5 separate regions of the Homo sapiens genome follow, and regions 2, 3, 4 and 5 are each linked to region 1. The links are contacts of gene promoters, found by promoter capture Hi-C in human tissues and cell types (Jung and others, 2019). All regions are on one chromosome and are shown on one strand. Each heading gives the region's core, a stretch centred on a gene start or on the middle of the fragment in contact. The rest is flanking DNA. Distances are from core to core; before and after follow the strand shown. Region 1 holds the start of CLEC7A (C-type lectin domain containing 7A). Region 2 overlaps LOC105369657 (a long non-coding RNA gene). Region 3 has its middle 31 kb from the start of KLRF1. Region 4 overlaps KLRF1 (killer cell lectin like receptor F1). Region 5 overlaps CLEC2B (C-type lectin domain family 2 member B).

Region 1 (2,718 bases), core at 145-2,644:
TTCTTCAAGGACTTGGGAGCTGTTTCTTTGAAATGCAAACATTCAGGGAGATAAATCTTGCTCTTTCTTTCAGATGCAGCATAAGGACCAACTTAGCTGGGTGCTTCACTTCAACTATCACCATGTCCTTCTGTCATATAGATAGGCAAAGTTTCTCTGTCCTCTGGATAAGGGCCAATTAACAAATCCAGAGAGTCTAGTCACATTAACTTTCCTTAACACCACTCAGTATCTTTTCCTTAGCAAACTCCACTTTAAAATGTCATCAGCTTTACTTTTGGGGAAGTTGAGTTCAGTTAATGCTGCACTGGTTCCTGTTGCAATAGTATTACTGAATAAAACCTGTCCTCACCACATTAACTAGTATCCAGATTTGTTGATCCTTGACAACACTCAGATGTCTCCTGCACTCTACTGGCTTCAAGGTCGGATAAATGAGTTGAACACCTCTTCAGTTTCCAGCAATGTTAGGTGTTTTCTATATTTCTTTGATTTGATCATTACTATGGAAACTGGAAGAGAGGGAAAAAAAATCAAACATCTAACATAATATTTCAGTCCCAACACCTTCCATAAGCTGTTCCTTGCAATATAAGTGTATGGAATGATGAAAGAGGCAGTGTAGCGTAACAGAAAAGACCACGAGTTTTGCAGCAAGAGTCAGCTTTGATTTGATTCCTTGCTCTAAATTTTTAAAATTAGCTTCTTAAACCTGAGAAAGAGGCTAAATTTTCTGTCTCATTTTTTCATTTGAAAATAGAAATAATAATGCCTACTATATAGACTTGGAAAAGTGAGATTGAACAAGAAAATATGTACAACATGTGGTACTTAGCTCATAGTAATTGTTCAATAAATGTTATTTTGTGTTAATATCTGATAATTCCCAAAGAGATTTGTTTTCTCTGTCTGTTGTTACAACAATGCATCTCCTCATGCCATCCCTCATTTACCTATCTATATATTTCCTTTATTAAGCAATGAGTTTCTTCATAGGTATCATTTTTCCTTGTATTGTAAGCTCCTACCAATTGAAAAGGTGGGCATCCAGTACCTGTTTATGTAATTTAAAAAATACATGAATAAATACATGAACAAAGTTATGGTAAACTTGGAGCACCAAAACTGAAATAGTTTGCATCGGTTAAATTAATTAATGTCAGACTTAGTTGTGAGAGTAATGAAGGCAGCATAAGACATTAATGTATGCATTTTTCTTACATTTGGTCTGAAACAAAGACTCATCTGCTATGCTGCCTTTTAGTTTTCCTGAGTCAGCAGTCTCAGAAACAGGATCTAAAGGTACAAATGGAAAATTACCACAGCATAGTTTCATTTCCTGCTCTTGAATATCTGGTTGAACTACTTAAGCTTAATTTGTTAAACTCCGGTAAGTACCTAGCCCACATGATTTGACTCAGAGATTCTCTTTTGTCCACAGACAGTCATCTCAGGAGCAGAAAGAAAAGAGCTCCCAAATGCTATATCTATTCAGGGGCTCTCAAGAACAATGGAATATCATCCTGATTTAGAAAATTTGGATGAAGATGGATATACTCAATTACACTTCGACTCTCAAAGCAATACCAGGATAGCTGTTGTTTCAGAGAAAGGTATATATATGTTTTTTCTAATGTGTGCCTTTAGCTCTCCCGTTTGAAAAGATATAAGGGGAGGCTAGGCATGGTGGCTCACACCTGTAATCCCAGCACTTTGGGAGGCCGAGGCGGGTGGATTGACTGAGGTCAGGAGTTCGAGGCCAGCTTGGCTAACGTGGTGAAACTCTGTCTCTACTAAAAATACAAAAATTAGCCGGGCATGGTGGTGCACGCCTGTAGTTCCAGGTACTTGGGAGGCTGAGGCAGGAGAATCACTTGAACCTGGGAGGTGGAGGTTGCAGTGAGCCAAGATCATGCCAATGCACTCCAGCCTGGGTGGCAGAGCAAGACTCCATCTCTGAAAAAAAATAAAAATAAAAACAAAACAAAAAGATATAAGGGGAGAAAATTTGAGAGCCTCGTGATGTGTATATTTTTATGGATATACTTTTAAAGGCTTCAGATGTCACTGAAGATAAATTGAATGCACCCTAAACCTTTTTTCATGAAAATTATTCAGTGACCAATTATTAGTGTTTAAATTAATTATGTCTGATGGCAGAAAATAGAATTTCTCTTTTCTATAGATATAGACATTTCATCAGTGAGGAATTGGTAATAAGTGGGATAATACACAAAGATAAAGGATTTCTGTATGAGTGACTTGTTGCTTGTTTGATAGAAAGGCTAGATTATCGAATGGAGGCCAGGAAACTTAAAGAAGTATATATATGAACAACATTTTTTTTTTGTGGTAAGAGATTAATTTAAATTGTTTTTAAACAAAAAACAATTATTGGTATACCAGTGATGGAAAATATATGAACATATGGTAGATAAAAACATCCCACCAGCAGGACATGAGTCTTAAACAAAGTGTAAATGAAATGAAATAGAAAGAAGGGCATTGGAGGATCTCTGTATTCATAGAATGGGTGATTTAGCCTACTCTACGATTCTCCTATGTGACAATTCTATGAAATGTCCTGACAGCTTAGTCACAGTGGAAAGCAGAAATACATTCTGGTTATGGCAATGTTCATACAAAATTAGTTCCCTATTATCTTTGAGAGAGAGAGATCATTTGTCGGTTTTGACACCAGAGTTTGCTTTCTTCTGC
Region 2 (2,718 bases), core at 71-2,570, 400 kb before region 1:
AGTAGAGATGGGGTTTGTCATGTTGGCCAGGCTGGTCTCAAACTCCTGACCTCAGGTGATCTGCCCACCTTGACCTCCCAAAGTGCTGGGATTACAGGTGTGAGCCACAACACCTGGCCTGCTTTGTGTGTGTGTGTGTGTGTGTATCTGTTGCATGTTTTTGAGTTGAGGTTACCATGAAAATTGCAAATACTATCTTATAACACATTATTTTAACCTGATTACAACTTAATACTGCTTGCAAATACAAATGAATTAACAAGAAAAAGGAAACTCATAAAAACTCTGTTTTAACTTCATTTCCATGCTTTTTAACCTTTGTTGTTTCTCTTTATGTGTTATTGTACTACATCTTGAAAAGTTGTTGTAATTATTATTTTGATTGGTTCATCTTTTATTCTTTCTACTTAAGATGAGTAATTTACAAACCACAGTAACAGTGTTATAATATGTGTGTTGTTCTGTGTACTTACTATTACCAGTGAGTTTTGTACCTTCAGAAGATGCTTTATTGCTTATTAACATCCTTTTCTTTCTGATTGAAGTACTCCCTTTAGCATTTCTTATAGGACATGTCTGGTATTGATGAAATCACTCAGCTTTTCTTTGTCTTGGAAAGTCTTTATTCCTCCTTCATGTTTGAAGAATATTTTCACCAGCTATACTGTTTATGCCTATTTTTTTTCCCCTTCAACACTTCAAATATGCCATGCCACTGTCTCCTGGTCTGCAATGTTTCCACTGAAAAGTCTGCTGGAAGATGTATTGGAGCTCCATTGTATGTTGTTTCTTTTCTCTTGCTGCTTTTAAGATCCTTTCTTTATCCTTGAAATTTGAGAGTTTGATTATTAGATGGCTTGACGTAGTCTTCCTTAGGTTAAATCTGCTTGGTCTTCTATAACTTTTGTGGACTTGGATATTGATATCTTTCTCTAGGTTTGGGAAGTTCTGTTATTATCCCTCTGAATAAACATTCTACTCCTTTCTGTTTCTCTACTTCCTCTGTAAGGCCAATAACTCTTAGATTTACCCTTTTCATGGTATTTTTTAAATCCTGCAGGGATAACTTTAGGTTTCTAAAAAACTTGCAGAGATAGTGTAGAAGGTTCCCATAGATCCTTGAGTGAGTTTCACTTTCCCCTAATGTTATTGTCTTACATTACCATAAGATGATACATCTTACATTTGTCAAAACTAGGCATCCTATACTGGTATGTTACTGTTAACTGTGCTGAAAACGTCATTCAGCTTTCACCCATTTTTCCCATGAATGTCTGTCTTCTGTTCTAGAATCATATCCAGGCCTCCACATTGTATTTGGTCATTACATCTCCTTCATCTCCAAATTATGACCATCTTATTTTTTATTAAACACCTCAAGTAATGATAGACTCAGTATCTATACTTCTGGAAAACCAAAAATTTTTTAAAGTTTTTTTTGCATTATTGCTTCCATCAAAATGACATTAAAAATTGGTCACTAGAAAACATAAGAGAGTCATTTTGGTATTTTCTGTATAAAACATAACTCAACCATTATTTCATATATTCAAACTCATCCATTATTTCATATAAACCATAACTGACCATTATTTCATAACTGTCAGTTTAAAACAGGAAATACAATTAAAGATATGTAAAAATGCAAAATATGAGAAAAACAATCCCTATTTTTATTATATAATGTTTTGTTTTTGGTGACAGGTTTACTGAACTAAAGATTCTCCCTTTGCCTTAGAAGCTAAGCTACAGTCACCTAACTTTTACCAATTTAAAAATTTTAAAGATAGGTGAAAATAACAGTATATAGGAAATACACAATATTAAAAATAAAAAATAAAAACCTATTACCTCTTGGATTTTTGTTTTTGTTTTTGAAAAATCATTTCAAAATTTTATGCATGCTGCCTGCTATATTATAAAGTTCACATTAATTCAGCTATATCCTGATATCATTCTGCTGTGTTCTATTCATGTTATCATGAGCCTCTATCTCTCTCTCTTATTTTATGTGCTTATTCACTTATTTCATCTTGGGGTTGTATCTTGATTTCTATTAACTTTATTCTTTTATTAAATGTCATTTCAGTTTTTAAAAAATTTAATACTGGCTAGACTTGGTGAACATAAATATAATTTCAGTGGACATTAAAAGATAAACACAAGTTGAGGTAGAAAAGAAGTATAGGAAACAATTGAAGAAACATTAAAAATACATTGATATTTTTGGGTACAAAAGTGTGTGGGTGTTTTAAGGAGAGAGGAAAGCTTTGGGAAAATGGTCTTTATAATCAACCAATTAATAATAACCTCATCCTTTATTCAAAATAGTTACAAAGTTAAAATCCTTAAAAGAAAATAGATATGATATACCTATACTCTGACAATAATATTTTATAGATATTGTTGATAAAATATCTAAGCCTATATAGTTTGCTAGATTTTCAAGAACCTCTTATATTTATTTTATTTAATAAACCTTGAAGTTTAGTATTAAAATGCCAAAAACTAAAATTGTTAATAATTACCTGTCTTTGGTGGTTTGCCCCATACTTTTAGGGACAGGTGTATATCAGTTGCTCTATTAATATTAAATGATGATAAATGTAAGCCTATACAACTCTTAAAAAGAGTGGAAGCAACACATTCCTATAAATATGTTATGGACTAATTTTTAGAATCCATTTGACACTTGTTATGGTTCATAACATATACAAA
Region 3 (2,718 bases), core at 78-2,577, 330 kb after region 1:
TTCGAGTCATACAAAACAATTACTCTAATTATTTTTTTAAAATATTTTTAAGCATCTGTCCTGATCTGGTCATTGTGCTCAGTATTGCCACACTGCCTATTATTATGTGCCTGCATTCACCATCTGTTATACAGCAGGAATAATGAATAGTTTCATCTTTTAAATTTTAGTTTTTAGGATTATCTCCCCCTCCAAAAACATTGAAATGATTACAATTATATAAATTAAAGTAATTTTGATTTAGGATATCCCCCTACTATTAAATACCAAATAAGACAACTGAATATGCATTTCAAGTTTATGAATGCAAATAAACATATATGTTAATGATTAGGAACCCTCTTGTATTAGAGTCAATTGCCCTCAAGCTGGTAAAGAAATTAGAGTTTCTTTTTCCCAGCTTTATTATATAAAAAGTTTATATGCCACAAATAGGCTAATTTGATTGCTTTATAAACATATTGCCTCTTTAAAATACAAAGTAAAATAACTTGCAAAAGGAACTTGAAATCTGTCAATGTCAATCTGTTCTAGCACAATCTATCCCAAATCTTCAATAGGCCTGAAAACTCCAACATTACTGTAAATTCATTTATTTTCTTTCTTTCTTTAAGGAATAAAAAAGAGAGTTAGTAACTTACTCTGTTAGGCATTGCGCCAAAGTAAGTTCCACTAAAATTTGTGTAAACGTTCAATGTGGTGTTTATTTTTTTTTTCTGAGAATTCCTTGTCCTAAATGATGCTTACTTCCTGTTTAACATTTACGAAGAAAACAATATGCAACACATACTTTAGCTGAAGTTATAATGGAGTTATCATTACAGTTCATTACAGCCAGTCCTTGTTACCCAAGATTAGATGCATAAAAGGCTGATCGCCGGCCCCTGCCTTTTGAAAGCTACCTAATTGTAAACGACAGCATGTATTAGATTGGTGCAAAAGTCATTGCAGTTTTTGCCATAATTTCAACAGCAAAATGAATATGCCTGCTCCCCCCAAAAATGTGGTTGGAATACTCGTAAAAAAGAAGAAAAAAAATTATTCACAGAGGTCTAAAATCCTGAAACCAGCTCAAAGAGTATCTGAATGTTTATATTGTTTTGAATTGAATAAAATGAGCAGTGAAAAAAAACAGACAGAAGTATGTCTGTTTCCAATTTATTCTGTGTCCTGGAAATAAATTTTTTCTCATTTTTTCTTTAAAATGAAATTCACACACACACACACACTTATGGGAAGAAATTAACAAAAGATCTCTAACCAGAGAGTATAAAATTTCAGGCAGTCTCATGAAAATAATTCACCATAAATCCTCCACTATCAAATGATTACATAGGAAACTGCATATTATAGTTACAATTATGAGTACTTTAAAGAAAACACCTAAGAAAGTTAATATGAAACACAAAACAACCCTTATGTGTAATTCACATGAAGAGATTGATAGTGGTAGAGTCAGCGGCAGCATTAGAAGTGGTAAAGATGGTGATGTTGATATCACTAGTATTATCGATACTACTTCTCTAGCAACCAAAGGAAGGAAGTGTATAAAGGAAAAGTAAAGATCAATTACGTCAAATTTTTCTGAGAAGCCCGGTAAGAAGAAAACCGAAAATTAAATATATAATATAGCAACATATCAGTAATTATTTAATACCTTGACAAAATCAGAACAAAAATTATTCTGAGAGTTATCCAGAAGAATAATTACAGCAGAAAAGCCAAGATGGTTTTTCCTCCTAAAGGAAGAAAATGGTGGGGTCTTTAAATGACAGATATTAAATAATGACAATCAAAACAACAATGGTAGTGTCTTCCCAGACAAATTCAATCACCATTCAGATCTCAGCTCAATTTTTAATTTGTGGATAATCAGAAGGGATGTGGACTGACACTGTCAATCATGTGGTTCTTCCTAAAACCCATGTAAAAGCCAATGCGTTCGTCCTCACAGTATTCCAGTGGTTGACATACTCCCCCTCCTTGATTTCCACCATTCTCCTGTAGAAAATATATGAAAAGTGTTGAGGATGTAAACTTAAATCATGATAAATGTTTGGTGGTTAACTGATGCAACAAGAGGAATCAATACAAGACACGCTATTTGAAAAAGTTCTATTTCTCAGGCTAGACCTCCTGGCCAGGATGCTGCCAATATCACCTGCCCAGAAAAAAAGAGCTGGAGATTTTTCAGCGAGCTCAGGCTGAGTATATATTGGACCACTGGAAATGAAATTTTGAGAGGTACAGAGTCACGGTACCTTTCAAAGCAGGGTAAAACCAAAGAGAATATATGGTACACGAAGGTAAGAAGGCTTCTGCTTCTTACTTCTTGGACTTGCTATCTGCATATCACGTCTGCAGTGCCTTTTTCTCTCAGGAGCACTACCATACTTACAAATGAGAAATCTAGAAGAAATCTGGATTATTCAGAGAAGTCCTCTCTGATCACATCTTTTAATATAATCATCCTCGATCTACCCACTCTCGCTCACTATCATATGTACACATCGATGTCTGTATTAATTAAACAAATACTTATTGAACATCTGCTATCACCTGGCAATGTTCTCGGCACTAGGTATATAGCAATTAGTACAAGAAAACTGATGCCCTTATGCTGCTTACATTCAAATGAAGGGAGATAGGCAGCAAACAGAACAATCTTATACTAATAATTCGGCTGGAGGAAAAGTGCCTTGAAGAAACAAAGCAGGG
Region 4 (2,718 bases), core at 63-2,562, 290 kb after region 1:
TGGATGAACTTTAAAAACATTATGCTAAGTGAAAGAAGCCCAAGGCCAAATATTGTGTGATTCTATTCCATGAAAATCCAGAATAGGTAAATCCATATAGACCGAAAGAAGATTTGTAGTTGTCAGAGGCTAAGGGGAGAGAGAATGGAGAGTGATTTGCTTGTTGGGTATGTAAGGGATTTATTTTTGGGAAAAGTTTTTCAACTAGATAAACATGGTAGTTCACAACGTTTGAAGGTTCTAAACATCATGAAATTGTTTACTTTTAAAGGTTCAAATTTTGAATTGTACCTCAGCTAAGAAAAGGAATAGGAAATAAATATATTGTAGCTCAATATACAGTATTTATACCTACTTTAATTAATGTTTACTGCCATGTACATGATTCCATGTTTACCTACCAAAGCCGCCTTAATTTTTCTAAGGTGTCATTGCAATGATACCCAACACAGTGACAGACATTACAGATAGGGAGACAATAAAATATGAGGTAAAGCTACAATATCTATTAGTTTGGGAAATATACCTGTAAAACAGACAGATAAGCCAAATGAAGACAGTGTCAATAAGTAGAACATAAAATATATAAAATTTTCACGTATGATAAAGGAGGAAATACGAACTAGTAGATTAGAAAAAAATCCTTTTATAATAATTATACATTTATCTGGAAAGTCATAATATATCATCTCATACAATAAAACAAATGTCAAAATGATCAGTTAAGTATCAAAAAGTTAAACTTAAAAGTAAAGAATAGAACTTCATCAGGGTGGAAGTATTGGAGGGTCCCCTGCCAGCAAAGATCACCTATCCACTCTAAGAGGGAGTTAAGACTGGCGGTTTGGGGATAGCACCAAGAGATATCAGCTGTGATGGCTTGGAAAAACAGTGTAAACCGGCAGTGTAAACAAGAGTAGGGCATTTATAAGTAGTTGAGAATGGTGAATAGGAGTATGACTAGACAGAAGATAGTAGGGATGACTAGTTTTTGGGGCTCGGTCCAAGTAGTGGGGGTAACTTCGTAAAGCCCTGTTGCAAAAAGTAGGGTAAGGACAAACAGACCTAATAGAATGAAGGGATCATTCCCATTCTTATGTCACCCTCTACCTCTCCCCAGCTATCTCCACCACACTACCAACGTTACTTATTCTCTCCTAGCCATTTCTAATCTCTCCTTATTGAACAACTGCTGGCTTTGCATTTCCCTTTCTTCCAGCGCCTACACAGCTGCCCCCACCTTACATGTAGACTGGGCAACATCTGTCTCCCTATACCTCTGAACTTCCTTTAACAGCCCTCACCTTTACCCTCCTGAAGAACTCATTTACTTTCTAGACAGGTCCAGCAAGACCTCCCCAGACATTTCATATCAGCAAGCTGCCGCCCTCCTCCACACTTACTTAAAAAACCTTTCTCCTTATATCAACTCTACTCCCCCCATATTTGGACCTCTCACAACACAAACTACTATTCCTATTCCTGTGGCCACTCCTTTATGTATCTCTCGGCAAAGACCCACTGGAATTCCCCTAGTAACCCTTCACCTTCTCCATGTTCCTTTACTCTTCATCTCCAAAGTCCAGCTATGCATGTCACCGAAACAATTGGAGCCTTCCAGCTCCGTATTACAGAAAAGCCCTCTATCAATACTGGCAAACTTAAAAATATTAGCAGTAATTATTGCTTAGGAAGACACTTACCCTGTATTTCACTCCATCCTCGGCTACCTTCCCCTTGCTCATCAGACCCTCCTCCCAGGCCCTCTTCTTGTTTACTTATACCCAGCCCCGAAAATAACAGTGAAAGGTAGCTCATAGACACTCAACATTTTCTCATATACCATGAAAATCGAACCTCCCCCTCTACGCAGTTACCCCACCAGTCCCCATTACAACCTCTGGTGGCTGCCGCCCTAGCTGGATCCCCAGGAGTCTGGGTACAAGACACCCCTTTCAGCACTCCTCATCTTTTTACTTTGCATCTCCAGTTTTGCCTCGCACAAGGTCTCTTCTTCCTCTGTGGATCCTCTACCTCCATGTGTCTACCTGCTAATTGGACAGGTACATGCACACTAGTTTTCCTTACTCCCAAAATTCAATTTGCAAATAGGACCGAAGAGCTCCCTGTTCCCCTCATGACACCAACACGACAAAAAAGAGTTATTCCACTAATTCCCTTGCTTGTTGGTTTAGGACTTTCTGCCTCCACTATTGCTCTCGGTACTGGAATAGGAGGCATTTCAACCTCTGTCACGACCTTCCATAGCCTCTCTAGTGTCTTCTCTGCTAGCATCACAGACATATCACAAACTTTATCAGTCCTCCAGGCCCAAGTTGACTCTTTAGCTGCAGTTATCCTCCAAAACCACCGAGGCCTTGACTTACTCACTGCTGAAAAAGGAGGACTCTGTATATTCTTAAATGAAGAGTGTTGTTTTTACCTAAATCAATCTGGCCTGGTGTATGACAACATAAGAAAACTCAAGGATAGGGTCCAAAAACTTGCCAACCAAGCAAGTAATTATGCTGAACGCCCTTGGACACTCTCTAATTGGATGTACTGGGTCCTCCCAATTCTTAGTCCTTTAATACCTATTTTTCTCCTTCTTTTATTCGGACCTTGTATCTGCCGTTTAGTTTCTCAATTCATCCAAAACCGTATCCAGGCCATCACCAATCATTCTATACAACAAATGCTCCTTCCAACAACCCCACA
Region 5 (2,718 bases), core at 166-2,665, 270 kb after region 1:
CTTTATATACTTGGGAGATCTGGTGTTGGGTCCATAGATTTTTAGAACTGTCATATCCTCTTGCTGAATTGACCTCTTTAGCATTATATAGTAACCTTTGTCTCTTTTTAAAGTAGTCTTTTAAAGTTTTGTAATCTATTTTATCTGATATAAGTATAGCTGCTCCGGCTTTTTTGGTTTCTATTTGCATGGAATATCTTTGTTCATCCCCTTCACTTTCATTCTCTGTGTGTCTTTATAGGTGAAGCAGATTTCCTGTAGGCTGCATACAGTTAGGGTTTTCTCTTTACCAAGTCAGCCACTTTAACTTTATGCTTTTTTTTTTTTTTTTTTTTTGAGAGAGTCTTGCTTTATTGCCCAGGCTGGAGTGGAGTGGCATGATCTCAGATCACTGCAGCCTCCAACTCCTGGATTCAAGCGACTCTCCTGCCTCAGCCTCCTGAGTAGCCAGGATCACAGGCATACACCACCACACCAAGCTAAGTTTTGTATTTTTAGTAGAAATGTGGTTTCGTTATGTTGGACAGGCTAGTCTTGAGCTCCTGACCTCAAATGATCTGCCTGCCTTGGCCTCCCAAAATTCTGGGATTACAGGCGTGAGCCACTGCACCCGGCCTGCACTTTATGTCTTTTAATTGGAGAGTTGAGTTCATTTAAATTCCATGTTATTGTTAAGTAAGGATTTTCTGGGGCTGTTTTGTTGCTTGTTTTATGGTTGTTTTTAAATTTCTCTCTTTTTTCTTTTCTTACTGTCATTCTTTGGGGTTATATAATTTTCTCTGGTGGTATATATTAATTAGTTGCTTTTTATTTTTAATGACTCTACTATAGGTTTTGCATTGTGATTACTATGAGGCTTATAAAAAATCTTATAGATATAACAAGTTATTTTAAAGAGATAACAACTTATATCACAAAGAATAGCAACAAAGGAAAAAAACACTTTTACTCCACCCTCACACATTTTTAATTTAGTTTTCCCAATTCACATATTTTTATTGCTTACCTCTTAACTGGTTTCTGCAGTTATCATTGTTCTTGATAGATTTATCTTCCAGTCTTCATTACTAGGGATATGAGAAGATTGTGCACCACAATTACAGTATTAGAGTATTCTGGGTTTGTGCATACACTTAATTTTATCAGTGTATTTTAGATATTCAGCTGTTTTCTGTTCGTGTGTTTTTTTCTTTTTGGTTGAAGAACTCCCTTTAGCATTTCTTATAAGATATGTCTGGTGGTGGTGAATTCTCTCAGTTTTTGTTTGTCTGGGAAACATTGTCTCTTCTTCATATTTGAAGGTCAGCTTTGCAGGATATGGTATTCTTAGATGGCAGGGTTTTTTTTTTTTTTCAGCACTTAAAAAATGTCATCACTTTTCTCTTGGTCTGTATGGTTTCCACTGAGACGTCTATCATCAGATAAATTGGAGCTCCTTTAAATATTATTTGCTTCTCTTCTCTTGCTGATTTTAGGATCCTCTCTTTTTCCTTGACCTTTGAGAGTTTGATTATTCTATGCCTAGGGGTAGTCTTGTTGGGGTCGGAATCTGTTTGGTGTTCTCTGACCTTTATCTGCCTGAATCTTTATCTCTTTCTCAAGCTTTGTAATACTTTCTGTTATTATTTCTTTGAATAAGCTTTCTACCTCTTGCTCTGGTTTGACTCTCTCTTAAACACCAATAATTCTTAGATATGGTCTTTTGCAGTAATTTTCTACAAGATGTTGGCATTCTTCCTTCCTTTTTATTCTTTTTTTCTCCTTTCCTTGTGTATTTTCAAAAGCCCATCCTCATGCTCACCGATTATTTCTTCTTCTTGATCCATTCTCTTTTGAGAGCCGCTAATAAAATTTTCGGTTCAGCAAATGTATTTTTCAGTTCCAATATCACTTTTTGATTTTTAAAAATTATTTCAATCCCTTTGTTAAATTCCTCTGATATATTTCTGAATTGTTTTTTGTGTTATTTTAGAGACCAGTGAGTTTTCTTAAAACTACTATTTTGAATTCTTGGTACAAGTGCTCACATATTGCCATTTCATTAAGATCTGTCTCTGATTCCGACTTTGTCCATTTAGGGGTATCGCAGTTCCCTGTTTGCTGTTGTTTCTTATGGATATGCATCTATGTCTTTGTGTTGAAGGATTTTATATGGCTTGTTTTGGTTTACATTGAATATGTTTGTTTAAATATTCCTTGTAATTTACCTGTCGATTTTTTTGGGGGTGGGGGGCGGCAGCTAGGTTTCGGCCTCCTTGTTATGACTACATGGTGCCTTAACCCAGGTTTGCCTTGGTTCTAGTAAACAATTAGAGTGCCACTCATACCAAATGAGGGTGCTTCCAAAGGGGATATCCCAGTAGTGTGGGAAGACTGACGAGGTGTTCCAGCCCAGGGGACCTGTGCAACAAACCTCCTATACCATGATGCTGCTCGACAGCCACTCTAAGTTGACATCTCCTTTGGCCAAGTAACAGAGCACAGTTTCTGGTATTGGGGATGGTAGTCCTGCCTCCCCACTTTGTCTCTGCCTGTCCTCGTTCAGGCACCCCGATGCTTCCCAAGTGTTAAGGCAGGGGCAAGTTTCCTGCCAGGAAACTCAAGCTGGTGGGGAAGCTGGTTATCCATCTTGATCTCACTTTTTCCAGTATAGAAATGATGTTTCCATGCCCTTGGGTACCGGAAAGATTGCAGGGAGAGTCCTCATGGATATGGAAG

Evidence for each region. Contacts are between HindIII fragments. The study calls those that stand out against the background at their distance.
Region 2: a fragment that was not itself captured here is called in contact with the fragment with the promoter of CLEC7A in region 1 in 1 of the 25 tissues and cell types used here (neural progenitor cells).
Region 3: a fragment that was not itself captured here is called in contact with the fragment with the promoter of CLEC7A in region 1 in 3 of the 25 tissues and cell types used here (hippocampus, mesendoderm cells and thymus).
Region 4: a fragment that was not itself captured here is called in contact with the fragment with the promoter of CLEC7A in region 1 in 2 of the 25 tissues and cell types used here (heart left ventricle and liver).
Region 5: a fragment that was not itself captured here is called in contact with the fragment with the promoter of CLEC7A in region 1 in 2 of the 25 tissues and cell types used here (liver and lymphoblastoid cells).

The regions. Positions count from the first base shown.
Region 1 is chr12:10,128,875-10,131,592 of GRCh38, reverse strand. It overlaps CLEC7A (C-type lectin domain containing 7A), which reads left to right and starts at 1,394. Exons shown (of 6, transcript NM_197947.3): 1 at 1,394-1,613. The coding sequence starts at 1,511. LOC105369655 (a long non-coding RNA gene) reads right to left here. Exons shown (of 4, transcript XR_007063208.1): 2 at 353-512. The HindIII fragment of the contact is 18,210 bases long and covers 1-2,718 here.
Region 2 is chr12:10,529,966-10,532,683 of GRCh38, reverse strand. All of the region lies in intron 1 of LOC105369657 (a long non-coding RNA gene), which reads left to right. Among named protein-coding and RNA genes, the nearest start is that of LINC02446, 22 kb to the left of the region's middle. The HindIII fragment of the contact is 6,729 bases long and covers 1-2,718 here.
Region 3 is chr12:9,795,288-9,798,005 of GRCh38, reverse strand. No RefSeq gene overlaps it. Among named protein-coding and RNA genes, the nearest start is that of KLRF1, 31 kb to the left of the region's middle. The HindIII fragment of the contact is 5,298 bases long and covers 1-2,718 here.
Region 4 is chr12:9,834,547-9,837,264 of GRCh38, reverse strand. All of the region lies in intron 3 of KLRF1 (killer cell lectin like receptor F1), which reads right to left. Among named protein-coding and RNA genes, the nearest start is that of KLRF1, 8.4 kb to the right of the region's middle. The HindIII fragment of the contact is 4,239 bases long and covers 1-2,718 here.
Region 5 is chr12:9,862,799-9,865,516 of GRCh38, reverse strand. The region is part of intron 1 of CLEC2B (C-type lectin domain family 2 member B); the gene reads left to right. Among named protein-coding and RNA genes, the nearest start is that of CLEC2B, 5.2 kb to the left of the region's middle. The HindIII fragment of the contact is 5,182 bases long and covers 1-2,718 here.